Regions from separate parts of the Homo sapiens genome. Here region 1 is linked to region 2. Evidence: promoter capture Hi-C in human tissues and cell types (Jung and others, 2019). All regions are on one chromosome and are shown on one strand. Each heading gives the region's core, a stretch centred on a gene start or on the middle of the fragment in contact. The rest is flanking DNA. Distances are from core to core; before and after follow the strand shown. Region 1 holds the start of SUMO3 (small ubiquitin like modifier 3). Region 2 holds the start of KRTAP12-1 (keratin associated protein 12-1).

What was found. Contacts are between HindIII fragments. The study calls those that stand out against the background at their distance.
Region 1: the fragment with the promoter of SUMO3 here is called in contact with the fragment with the promoter of KRTAP12-1 in region 2 in 1 of the 25 tissues and cell types used here (mesendoderm cells).

Annotation. Positions count from the first base shown.
Region 1 is chr21:44,816,504-44,822,678 of GRCh38, reverse strand. It overlaps SUMO3 (small ubiquitin like modifier 3), which reads left to right and starts at 4,617. Exons shown (of 4, transcript NM_006936.3): 1 at 4,617-4,731. The coding sequence starts at 4,711. RefSeq lists silencers at 4,006-4,105, 4,126-4,705, 4,886-5,085. The HindIII fragment of the contact is 28,474 bases long and covers 1-6,175 here.
Region 2 is chr21:44,680,632-44,687,169 of GRCh38, reverse strand. It overlaps KRTAP12-1 (keratin associated protein 12-1), which reads left to right and starts at 5,007. Exons shown (of 1, transcript NM_181686.2): 1 at 5,007-5,594. The coding sequence starts at 5,047. The coding sequence ends at 5,337. All of the region lies in intron 1 of TSPEAR (thrombospondin type laminin G domain and EAR repeats), which reads left to right. It also overlaps the pseudogene KRTAP12-5P. The HindIII fragment of the contact is 13,337 bases long and covers 1-6,538 here.

The sequences.
Region 1 (6,175 bases), core at 3,368-5,867, 140 kb before region 2:
CACCCAGCCTGAATATTTTCTTCTGACCTATCTTTCAGTTCATTAATCATCTCTTTCACTGTGTCTAATCTGTTTCAAACCCATCCATTGAATTTATAACTTCAGCTATTGTTTTTTTAATTTCCATTAAATTGTTTTTTATATACCCCACTTCTCTGCTGAACATTTCCATCTCATAATCTATTTTCTTGAACATATTAATCACATTACCTTAAAGTGTATGATAATGTCAATATCCTGTTGACATGATAATCCCATGGAATTATTCCTACTTTATTTATATATATATTTTTTGGTTTTGGATCATTTGTCTCCTGGTTTTCTTTGTAAACTTTAAATCTGGATATTGTATATGGAAATATTTTAGTTAATTTGAGGCCCTGGATGATGCTATTTACCTCTGCATATTTCCTTTTGCTTTGGGCTGGCTGTGGGAAAGAGAGCAGATCAACTTAGTCTGGGAGTCAGCCCTTTGGAAGCTTGGTTTCAGACTTTGAGAGGGACGATCTACTCACCCCTCAGCCTTCCTCCCCTATTGCAGCCCTCAGTGCTCTCAGCTGAAGGTCTGGGTCACTCATCAGAGTCTCCCTATCTTGTGGGCTGTCACCAATTATTGTCTCCCCAACCCTAGGAGATGCAAAAGCTCTGCTCAGTGTGTCAACTTCTTTCCACTGCATATGTGAGACTGAATTGTGTCCCCCCAGCATTCACATGTTGAAGCCCTGACCTCCAATGTGATTTCATTTGGAGACAGAACCTTTAAAGAGGTGATTAAGGTTAACTGAGGTGATAAGGGTGGGGCCCTAATCCCAGAGGACTGGTGTCTTTGCAAAAGGAGGAAGATACACCAGAGATCTCTCCCTCTCTGCAGACACAGCAGAAAGGCCATTGTGAGAACACGCCAAGTTGGCTGCATACAAGTTGGGAGGAGAGGCTTGACCGGACACCAACCCTGATGGCTCACTGATTTTGGGCTTCCAGTCTCTAGAACTGTCTGGAGGCTGGGAAATAACTATCAATGGTTTAAGCTGCCCAGTCTGTATTATTTATTTATTTTTTTTTGAGACAGAGTTTCACTCTTGTTGCCCAGGCTGCAGTGCAATGGTGCTATCTTGGCTCACCACAACCTCCGCCTCCCAGGTTCAAGCGATTCTCCTGCCTCAGCCTCCCGAGTAGCTGGGATTACAGGCATGCGCCACCATGCCCGGCTGATTTTGTATTTTTAGTAGAGATGGGGTTCCTCCATGTTGTTCAGGCTGGTCTCAAACTCCTGACCTCAGGTGATCTGCCTGGCTCAGCCTCTCAAAGTGCTGGGATTACCGGCGTGAGCCACCGCGTCCGGCCCCCGGTCTGTATGTTTTTATGGAAGTCTAGGCTAACACAGGATACTAATCACCAAGTGCCTCAAAGGAAAAAAACTCTTCCCTTTTCTTTTTGAGGTGGGGGAAGGTCTTTGCCCCTCACAGAAAGACTTCTTTTGGTAGCTGATAGCCTTAAACAGATTTAAAGAATATTTTATACTGATTTTTGGGCTATTTTTGTTGGGTTTGTCTGAGGCAACCAGTCCTCCCTAACTGTAAGTAGAAACGTCTCTGAACGCCTCAGGGATTTCTCCTCACATGCCAAGCATCTGTGTCAGTCTTCTCACTCAGCCATTGGATACTCAGGGGCCCTTTCCATTTATGGAGTCAAATATTTCTTTAGTTCAGAGAAATTTCTTATTTTTACTTTTTCTTTGAGATAGGGTCTTGCCCTGTTGCCCAGGCTGGAGTGCAGTGGTGCGACCTTGGCTCACTGCAGCTTCTGCCTCCTGAGTTCAAGCTGATTCTCCAGCCTCAGGCTTCCAAGGAGCCAGAATTACAGGCACACACAACCACACTCAGCTAATTCTTGTATTTTTAGTAGAGATGGGGTTTCACCATGTTGCTCAGGCTGGTCTCAAACTCCTGACCTCAGGTGATCCGCCTGCCTCAGCCTCCCAAAGTGCTGGGATTACAAGCGTGAGCCACCGTGCCTGGCCTCAGAGATATTTTCTCCAATTCTGTCTTTGATTTTGTCCTGGTTTCCTTTTTTCCACCTTCTCCTGCAGCTCCTGTCAGGTGGACGTAGCCCTTCCTGTACTGATGCCCGGTGTCTCGGCCTTCCAACCTTCCCTCTCTCTTTTCTTTTTTTTTGAAATGGAGTCTCACCCTGTTGCCCAGGCTGGAGTGCAGCGGCACGATCTTAGCTCACTGCAACCTCTGCCTCCTGGGTTTAAGCGATTCTCCTGCCTCAGCCTCCCAAGCAGCTGGGATTACAGGCATGCGCCACCAGGCCCGGCTAATTTTTTTGTGGAGACGGGGTTTCACCATGTTGACCAGGCTGGTCTCGAACTCCTGACCTTGTAATCCACCAGCCTCAGCATCCCAAAGTGCTGGGATTACAGGCATGAGCCACCCAGCCCAGCCCTGACCTTTCCTCTCTTAACTTCTCCATCATGGGAGAGTCCTGTGACTTTGTCTCGCAGTTCTTTGCGTCCTCAGCCAGGACCCCTCTCCTAGTCACATGTGGGTCGAGCTTTCATGTCAGCAATGCTGTTACTCATTTGCCAGTTCCCTGCCTTCTCATGAGTCTTCTTGTTGGGACCATCGCCAGGTGTGGCGACCCTCCGGAGGGGCTCTGGCCATTTGGGTTCTTTACCCTGTGCTCGTGGTAGGCCACGGTTTTTCCTGAGCTCTGGTTCCTCCGTCCATTCGATCCCCTTTGGCTGTGTCCTTCAGAAACCTCTTGGCGTTCGGTCCACCAGCGGTGTCCTTTGTGTCCCCACAGCTGCGACAGAGCCTTTTTGCATCTTTGCTGTCACATGAAGGATTCGGGGCAGGTCACAGTGTGGGAGACAGACACAGCATGAATTGAATTCAGACCACCATTGTCTTATAGCCTGGCTTTTTAAAACCTAATGTCATCTGAGCCTCTTTTTCCCTTATCCATGACTGTAGTCACGCATCACTTCGTGACACAGCAACTGGCGTAATTTCGAGCGGTAACACATTTGGGTTCTGTGTCTCATGATTTCTAAGCTGCGTGTTTCTCACTTCCACAACACTGAAGCGGGCTGCCGTCATCCACAGCCTGCCGGAGTTTAGTGTGTCTGTGCTACCTACGGTCGTGTTGTTTTATGATTAACGGTGTCTTGGAGTCGATAACTCTCTGAACCCTGCCTGCCCTAGGGCACTTCCAGGGCCAGCAATCTGTGGGCTCTGAGGCGCCACGTCCCCTCGGAAGGGGCTGGTTGCGGAGCCCCCTCCCAGGACCGTCTGAGCTGGCCACCCACCTCCACATCCTCTGCTGAGGCCCTGGGCTCCAGGTTCCAGAAGGAAGGGACCACACCTTATGACCTGCCTGGGACTGGGGCTGACTCTCAGACCCTCTCCCCGAAAGACTTCAGCAGCCTTCCCCCTCCTAAGTGGGGGCTCTAGCCAAGAAAGTGAATTTTTGAGTAGAAGACGGTTTGTGAAGTTATGGTCCATGAAGACTTGTCTCCATGGCTTTGCGACGTTGCTCAGTTGGCTGAGCCTTTCCCAGGCAGGACAGAAACGGCTCAGACGCTTAGGTTCAAATCCAGGCCCTGCCATTTCCCAGCTGAGCCTGAAGTGCGGCCTCCCCCGCCTTCGGCCGGGCTCACCATCAGATGAGACCTCCGCCACGCCCCGGCTGGCACCACCCGGGCACTCCTGAGGGACGCAGGGGTGTCCGCCCTCAGGTCCGTTCCATCCGAGGCCCTGGGATCACAGACATGGAGGCCGGGGCGGGCCAGGCACCCCAGGAATGGCGCCCGCAAGTCCGGGGAGGCCGTCCTGCCGGCCCAGCGCGTTTCCCGCGTCCACGAGGTCCCCGTTCCGCCGGCACTGGCGGCGTCCAGCCTGGGTTTGCCCGCGCTCGCCGACGTGGCGGCCTGGCCAAGCTCGGCGCCGCTCACCAGCGCTGACCTGGGGGTGGTTTGACCTCCCAGTGCCTCAGTTTCTTCACAGGTAAAACGGGTCTTCTTGAGGACGGGTGTGGAGGGCCCGGGGCAGCCCCGTAGGAGCGTTGGCCAAAGGAGCCCGGCCTGGGGCTGACAGGAAACCGCGGCGGCAGGGAGGCGGGTGGCGCCCCCAATCGTCTAGGGTGCTGGCCCGATTCGCGCGGCCCCCGCGGACGGGACCCCGCGGGCCGCCTTCTCCGCTCTGTCCGCGGCTCCTGAGAGGGAACGTCACCCCCAGCGTCCTCCCTCCTCCGCCCCAGGTCCCTGCGGCCATGGGCGGCGGCCCCGGCCTCACTTCCCGGCGCCCCAGGAACGCGGCCCCCAGGAAAGGAGTCGGGGCCCGGGCGACGCGGGGAGGCGGGCAAGGGTCCCCAGGGCCCGGGCTCCCCGTAAACGCTCCTGGCCCGCGCCCCACAGCGCCCTAGGGCTTCCGCGCCCGACGGGGTCGCGCGGGACCCGCCCCGTGACGCATCTCCAACCGCCCAGAGCCGCGGCCCGGCCTGCGCGCGCCCGACGCCCCGGGGAGCGCGCCTCGTGAACGCGCGCAGCCACGTGACCCCCGTGCCGGCCAACGGGTGCGCCGGGATTTGGGGGATAAAGCGCGGCCCCGCGCACAGTTGCGGCGGGAGAGCGGCGGGGCCGAGAGCGTGACTCGCCCGCTCCGCGCTGCTTCCCCCGCGCCGCCTCCCCGCGCCGCTCGCGCAGCCATGTCCGAGGAGAAGCCCAAGGTAAGCGCGGCGACCCCGCCTGCACGCGCGTCTATCGCGGGCGTCCCGCCCCCAGCCCGGCTCCGCCCCCACCCCGACTCCGCCCCGCGTCCCGCCCCTGACAGGCTCCGCCCCTCCCCGCCCTCTAGAGCCCCGCCCCTAAGTGGGCCCGCCCAAGGTGCGCCCCCTCTGCCCCCGCGAAGCGCGCTGTGCCGCGAGCTCCGCCCCCTCCGGGCCTGGCCACGCCTCCGCTCCACGCCCGTCTCCTCCCCAGCTGGGAAGGCGCGCGCCCAGCGCCTCCTTGAGCGCCCGGTGTCGGGCCCCGCGCTGCTGCTCCTGCAGAGCGCGGCGCCCTCGGATCCCGCCCCAGCAGTGTCCCCGAAGCGTCTTTGCGTGCTCCTCTCCTGAGTCATTGCTGGTTGGGGTCGCCCTCTCCCCCGGCATCGCCCTGGGTGCGGGATCCTGTGTCGAGTGCACGGAGTCGGCTCGGGAACAAGCGTCTGGGGTTACCCCCAAGGGGCGCGCTCTGAGGGGCCTGGCCCCTGTGAGCAGCACTGCCGTCCTTCCAGGGCGCCCATCGCGACCCCGGTATTCACCCACTTCTCCGCATCGTGTCCCGGCCATCGCGTCCCCCAGTGTGCGCCCACCCCTCTCCTTCGTGTCTCCCCAATCGTGCCCTCAGTGTGCACCTACTCCCACCCATCGCGCCCCGTGTGCACCCACCGCCTCCATCGCGTCCCCCGGTGTGCGCCCACCCCTCCCCATCGCGCCCCCCGGTGTACGCCCACGCCTCCCCATCACGCCCCCCATGGTGTGTACCCACTCCTCCCCATCATGCCACCTGGTGTGCGCCCACCCGTCCCCATCATCGCGTCCCTGGTGTGCGCCCACCCCTCCCTATTGCGTCGCCCTCTCCATCACACCCCCAGTGTGTGCTCACCCCTCCCCGTCGCGTCCCCCAGTGTGCGCCCACCCCTATCCATCGCGTCCCCCTTTCCATCACACCCCCAGTGTGCGTCCACCCCTCCCCATCACCCCCTCCACGATGTGCGCCCACCCCTCCCCATCACGCCCCCTATAGTGTGTGCCCACCCCTCCCTATCACGCCCCACGGTGTGCGCCCACTTCTCTGCATTGCGCCTCCCCCACCATGCGCGCCCACCCCTCCTTATCCAGCCTTGGGTGGGCTTTAGTCTCCCCCATTGCCATGCTGGGGTGTGCCTCCCTCCAGTCTCAGTCCTGGGGTATGCACCCTGCATTCAGGTGCACTGGCCATTCCTTCTCGGGAGGGTCTGTAGTCGCATTCTCCAGTGTTCATAAAAAGAGAACCTTTCCGAAGCCCTTGGTGTGCACTGTCGGCCTCTATGTTACATCCCAGTGGAAGATGACTAGAGCTGAAGGCTCTGTAAAGAGGCTGTCTCTGATACTGGCCTGGTCCTGGAGGTGACCACCCTCCCTTTACAGA
Region 2 (6,538 bases), core at 3,758-6,257:
GGGGGAAAGCCCTTCTGACACCCGAAGGCAGCCACCAGGTTCCCCAGGCTCAGCCTCCTTCTTCCCGCAGCCCTTCGTCCTGTGGCTTGGTTTCCAGGCTCCAGAAGAGTCCTGGCTGAGAGATCCTCGTCTGAAACTACTGGGAAGGAGACACCCCCTTTGGACTCAGCAGCTTCAGCCACAGCTTTTCCCAGAGCGTCTTCCCGACATCCCAGGGTCAAGCTCCACCTCTGAGCAGTGACCAAGGACAGAACCCCATGCTGACATTGTCTTGGTCAGGAAGGCAAAGGACAACGAGAAACAGCTTCAGGGAAATTTTTAAAAAGACCCACTATTAAGGAGCAGAGAGACTTATTTTTGATAGAGAACTAAGCCTTCCTGCACAAGAACGTTCAGGGGAAATTCCAGCCACAGTGGGAGGTGGATCTGTCACCAGGGACTGAGAAGTGCAGGGGGATTCTGATAATAGGACAAAGGGAAAGGCTTTTGCTAAACAATAGCAGAGAGTTGATTATCAGGATAATCCATCAGCAGCAGGCCGGTGTGGCAGGTCACAGGTCTGCAGGCCAGGGAAGGGGCAGAAGGGCGGGCAGCACCTGGAGGACCCGCAGGAGGCGGCCACACACAGGCCCGACCTGAGCATGCGGCAGGCCAGCTGGCAGGAGGTGGATGCCTCACACAGGGGCCGGCACAGCAGAGCTGCACGGTGCGGGGGGCAGGGCGGGGGTGGCCAGGTGGCAGCAGGAGGTCCCACAGCCCTGGGTGGGCAGCAGGTGGTGGAGATGCAGCATAGAACCAGGGCAGGTCATGGGCATTCGGGCAGCAAGGCCCCTGGCATCTTCCTCCTTGGGTGGGTTTTCCTCCTCTGCCCTCTCCTGTTGATCTTTCTGGGTTTTCTTGTTGAGGTTACTCAGTTCAGGAACCTCTGAGCTGGGGGTTCCCATGACTCAGCAGACCATGTGTTTCCTGGAAACAGAGCCGAGGGGAGCTGGTGAAGGGCTGTCAGTGAGGCCAGGGGTCCACCTCATGGATGTTCAAGGTCCCCCTGTTGCAAATGCCATCTGGAGCTCACACAAACACAGTCACACTCACTGCACCAGGGGCCCCGTTTTGACTGAGAAGCTCAGTCATCATCAGGGTCTTCCCAAGTAATGAGAGCCAAGCTACTGGGCTCCATATTGTGGAATAATAATGATGATTATTGAGGTAACAGTAATGCACAGAGGTCTAACACTGTGCCAGGTTGTGATTATCTCATTGATCTTTGCCAGCATTCGGGGTGGCTGATACCCCATTTTACAGATGTGCAATTTGTAAGTCATAGAGGGTTTGCACAATGGGTGCGTGTCTGCACCACTGCAGAGGTGCAGGGATCTGGACTGCTTAGTTTCACTCTGGGATCCATGGTCATTACCACTGTGCCAAATTATACCGGGGGTAGAGGGTTCAATAAGTGACTCATCCTGAAGTCCTGAACCAGCTGGGACAGAGAAGATGGATGAAAACATCAGCCACGTTGGCGTCTGCAGAGCATGGCTCAGGCGTGTGACCACAGTGGGCTTCCTGACACCACACCTCAGAAGTGCCCACTTCCCACGAGTAGCACTAATGGCCACAGGACACCTCCTCTGCAGACGGAGCCCAGGAGGACCCATCACAGAGGAGGGCCTGAGCTACTCATGTCTGGTTCCTCTCCCTCGCTGTGGGTCTGGTCAGTCTCACCCCTGCAGAGGCAGCTTGGGGGAAAGTGAGGAGCTGGTGTGAAATTCCAGGATGCCCCTGAACTTGGGAAGCAGCGGGCAGGAGTGTGGATGGCACGCTCCTCCTCACACTCCAGCTCTGTTCTCTCGATGGATTGGCCACAGCGCTTTATTCTACGGTGGTGTCACACAGTAGGGGTATGAGCCATCTCTCACGGCAGAGCTACTCCCTCCATCCCAGGCAGCTCCCAGGGGCACCCTCTGCTCCTGTGTGGGTCCTCCTGTGCCTGCTGGTGGTGGATATGGGTGATTCCTGCCAAGAAGCCTTCAGACAAGTCAGACACCATGTTAATGAAATCCCCTCCAAGGCTGAAGACCAAGTGGGGTCTCAGAGCTGTGGACAGAACTTAGAAGTCTATGGACCCAGAGCCGATCTGTGGCCATGTGAGAGTGACCTTAAGGCCTAGGGACAAGCCGGGCGAGGCCACAAGTTCAGCCCTGTCACAGGCAACTCCTTTCACTGCTATAGTTCAGAATCACACTTAAAAACCAAGAGAATTGGGGCAGCCACAGTGATCACATGTTCCTATGTGACCTAGTCACCAAGTAATCCATTTTAAAGGTTAGCTGTCTTACAAGTTGACTACAGAAGAATGAGGATGCATCTTTGATATTTACCTGCTCCTTTACCTTCCCCCATCTCCTTCCTGTAGGTCAGGGCCCACCTGGCCTCGTCCTAGTCAACCTAAAGCACATCCGTGCACGTTGCCTGGCCCTTACTCCTTCCTGCAGGTCAGGGCCCACCTGGCCTCGTCCTAGTCAACCTAAAGCACATCTGTCCACGTTGCCTGCAGCGCACATCTGCAGGGGAGGATTTCTCCCAGCTTTTGTTCCTCTGAACAGATTTTCACTTCAATCTCAGTTTCTGGGGTTTTTTGAGACCCTTCTTGCTTGGTCACCCAGGCTGAAGTGTGATGGTGCAGTCATAGCTCACTGCAGCTTCGAACTCCTGGGCTCAAGCTATCCTCCTGCCTCATCCTCCTGAATAGTTGGGACTACAGGTGCACACCGCCACCCCTAGCTAATTTTTAAATTTTCTGTAGAGATGTGCTCTTGCTTGTTGCCTAGGCTGGTCTACAACTCTTGGGCTCAAGTGATCCTCTTGCCTCAGCCTTCAAAGTGCTGGGATTAGAGGTGTGAACCACAGTGCCCGGCCCGGCCTCAGTCTCAGTCTTTAAGCACGTTCTTCATAGATGTAGACTTCCGGATTGCCAGTTATTGTTGCTCAGCATTTTAAAGATGTGTCTCCACTGTTTCTCATGAGAAGCCAGGGCGTTTTTCTTATCCTTGTTCCTTTGTATGTAAAGTGTCTTCCTGTCACTGCTTTTGAGATTTTGTCTTCATTTTTGGTTTTCATCACTTCATGATGTGCCTGGATGTGGTTTTCTTCCTATTTATCCTACTGGGGGCTTTCTGAGATTCCTGGATTTGGACGTTGTTGATTTTTGAAGTCAAATTTGGTGTATTTAAAATTTCTAACTACTGTACTTTTCAGTTCTAGGATTCCCATTTTAAAAAATAGCTTCAATTACTCTACTGAGATTCCCTATTTATCCATTCATGAAGACAATGTTTTCCTTTAATTATTTGAACAGTTTTCTTGGATTTTTTGGAAGATGTCTATAATAGCTGCTTACAGTCATCATTTGCCATGTCCAATATCTAGACCATATCAGGTTTATTTTTTTTAACAGTGAATTAAATTTACCTATATCTTTTAATATCTGATGATTTGTTTTTTGAGACGGGGTCTTGCTCTGTTGCCCTGGCTGGAATGCAGTGGTGTGATCATAACTCATGGCATCCTCAACCTCCCAGGCTCAATAGACCCTCCTGCCTCAACCTACCGTGTAGCTGGGACCACAAGCATGCACCACCATGTCTGGCTAATTTTTAACCATTTTTTTGTAGAGACAGAGTCTCACTATGTTGCCCAGGCTGGTCTGAAACTCCTAGCCTCAAGCAATCTTCCCATCTTGGTCTCCCAAAGTGCTGGGATTACAGGCATAAACAACCGTGCCTGGTCAATATCTGATGATTTTGATTGTGTATGAGGTATCATAATAATGCATTTACAGACTCTGAGCTGTATCATGTTTCTGATTTTTGTTCTAGCCGTCAGTTACTGGAGAATGACCTTAATCTTGTGCAGTTTTTGTTCAACACTTTGCTAGGGTGGATCTCTGGGAAGCATCTACAACTTGGAACACTCTGTATCTTGGTGGGACTCACATTCCAAACTGTCTTCCCTAAAAATCCTATTCTGAATTGGTTTAGGCTTTGTTCGGGCTGGCCTAGGCGGGTCTCACTGTAGTCTGTGGTCCTTACTCATTTGGTGCCGGGCTGTAGGGGGTCTCGGCTGGATGTCGACGTGGGGACTGGAGGGGGGCTTCACTCTCAATCCTCTAGCAGCTTCTCTCTGGTGAGCCTGTGGTTGCCTTGCCCTGGGAATGCACAGCCCTGCCCCGTTCCACAGATTCACAGTCAGCTTCCACAGTGTGGGGCCTGCTCTCCACACGGATCCTTCTTTCCGCTTCTCTGCTCCTCGGACTCCAGGGCTTCAGCTGCTTGAGCGCTGGCCCCTTCCTCCTCGGCAGAGTTGGGTCACTGTATTCTGCTCTGACTCCGGCTGGTGACACTGCATTTTGGAAGGTGACACTGCATTTTGGAAGCCTGCCCCAGCAGAGAGCTGGGAAATGGGAGTTTATCTCCTAAGTTTCTTCTCTCTCAGGAAGCACAGTCTGCACTGCTGGTTGACGGCTGCCTGAAAACGAGCATCTCCTAAATCTCAACTGTATAGTTGATAGAGTAGCCAGCTTTGCATCACTCACTCCAGCAGGTTCCCCAGTATGATTTCATTGTCTATATTCAGTTCTGGTCTCTTCCCCAAAGTTTCTGGTTGATGCAACAGAAGTTGCGGTTCGAGGAGCTCTTTTGGGTACCACTCATGTCTGCTTCAGCGTAGAACTAACGAAGGGAGGCAGATATCAGGCAGGTGGAGCTAAAACTGCCTGTGCATCACTGATAAATTTGGGCAGGTTTCCAAATGTAACAAGAGCTTGAAGAGGGTGCAATTAGTCACGAAACAAAGGGCCAGATAAAAAACATCATCTACGACAGAAAACTGAGTTCCAGGAAACAGCCTTGAGGAAGAAAAACAAGGAAGACAACAGGTGTGTGCTTCTGTGCTGTGGGGATGCCTGGGTCCAGGTATAAAGGCTACCCAGGGAGGCCATCCCCAGACATCACTGCCCTCTGCCTCGACCTTATCCAGCCACACGCCACCATGTGCCACACCAGCTGCTCCTCGGGCTGCCAGCCAGCCTGCTGCGCGCCCAGCCCCTGCCAGGCATCCTGTTACATCCCCGTGGGCTGCCAGTCCTCCGTGTGCGTGCCCGTGAGCTTCAAGCCAGCCGTGTGTGTGCCCGTGAGATGCCAGTCCTCTGTGTGCGTGCCCGTGAGCTGCAGGCCCGTCGTGTATGCGGCTCCCTCCTGCCAGTCCTCTGGGTGCTGCCAGCCTTCCTGCACCAGCGTCCTCTGCAGACCCATCTCCTGCAGCACCCCTTCCTGCTGCTGAGCATGAATCTCCAGACCCGCTGCTCCCAGTGCAGATGAGGCCACACCTGTACACTCCCTGGATGAGTCCTCAGTTGGTCTTCTGCACATGGTGCAGGTGAAAAGCATGCTCAGTGAACCCTCTGAATTCTGGATCGAGAATATAATAGAATGATCTGGAGCCCTGGCTGAACTTGCCTATCCCCCCAGGGAAGTCTGGGGTCCCAGAGTCATTCTCTGACCCCATGAGAGTCAAATAAACCAGCTTTCCCCATGCAACTCTGCGTTTCTTGTCTCTCTTTTTTATTTCTATACTCCCCGCTATCTATTCTGCTGATTACATAGAATTTGCTGCTAAACCCTCTTCAGTGATCCCTTCACCCAGTGCTCATCAGAAGGTGGTGTCCCGGGTGGAGGGCGCGGCTGCAGATGCCCATGTGGTCTCTCCCAGGGCTCCTGGGGCCCAGCTGCAGTGGCCACAGCGGTGACTTACCCGCCTGTGGTGGAGTGGCCTCGCTTCCCCACTGGCTGTCCACTCCTGCTCCAGGCCAGCAAGCCCTGCATTGATGGCCAAAGCCTCAGAGCACTGAGGATCGGGCTTTCCCATGTGGTTGGTGGATGTCCTGCTTCCCGGGTCGCGGAGGATCTCAGGTTTACAGAACTGGATTAGTTCTGCAGCACACACTCCCATCACTGATCTACATATGGCACTTTTTAAAAATTGATACATAATATGTTTACATATTTATGGGGCATATGAAATACTTTACACACAGAGGATACGTAATGATGAAATCAGGATATTCATCACCTTGTCTATCATTTCTCTGTGTTGAGGACATTTTACACTCTCTCTTCTAGCTGATTTGAGACATACAATACATTGTTAACTGTAGTCACCCTATGCTGCTATCAAATATTAGAACTTATTCTTTCTGTGTAACTGTATGTTTGTACCCATTAACCAAACTCACTTCTCCTCTAACACACACCGTTCTTCACCTCTGGTAATATCATTCTACTCTCTACTTCCATGAGATCAACTTTGTGAACTCCCACATGTGAGTGAGAACATGTAATATTTGTCTTTAATGACCTTCGGTTCCATCCATGTTGCTGCAAATGGCAGGACTTCATTCTTTTTTATGGCCGAATAAGATTCCATTGTAAATATATACCACAGTTTCTTGATTCATTTATTTATTGATAGACATTTAGGTTGA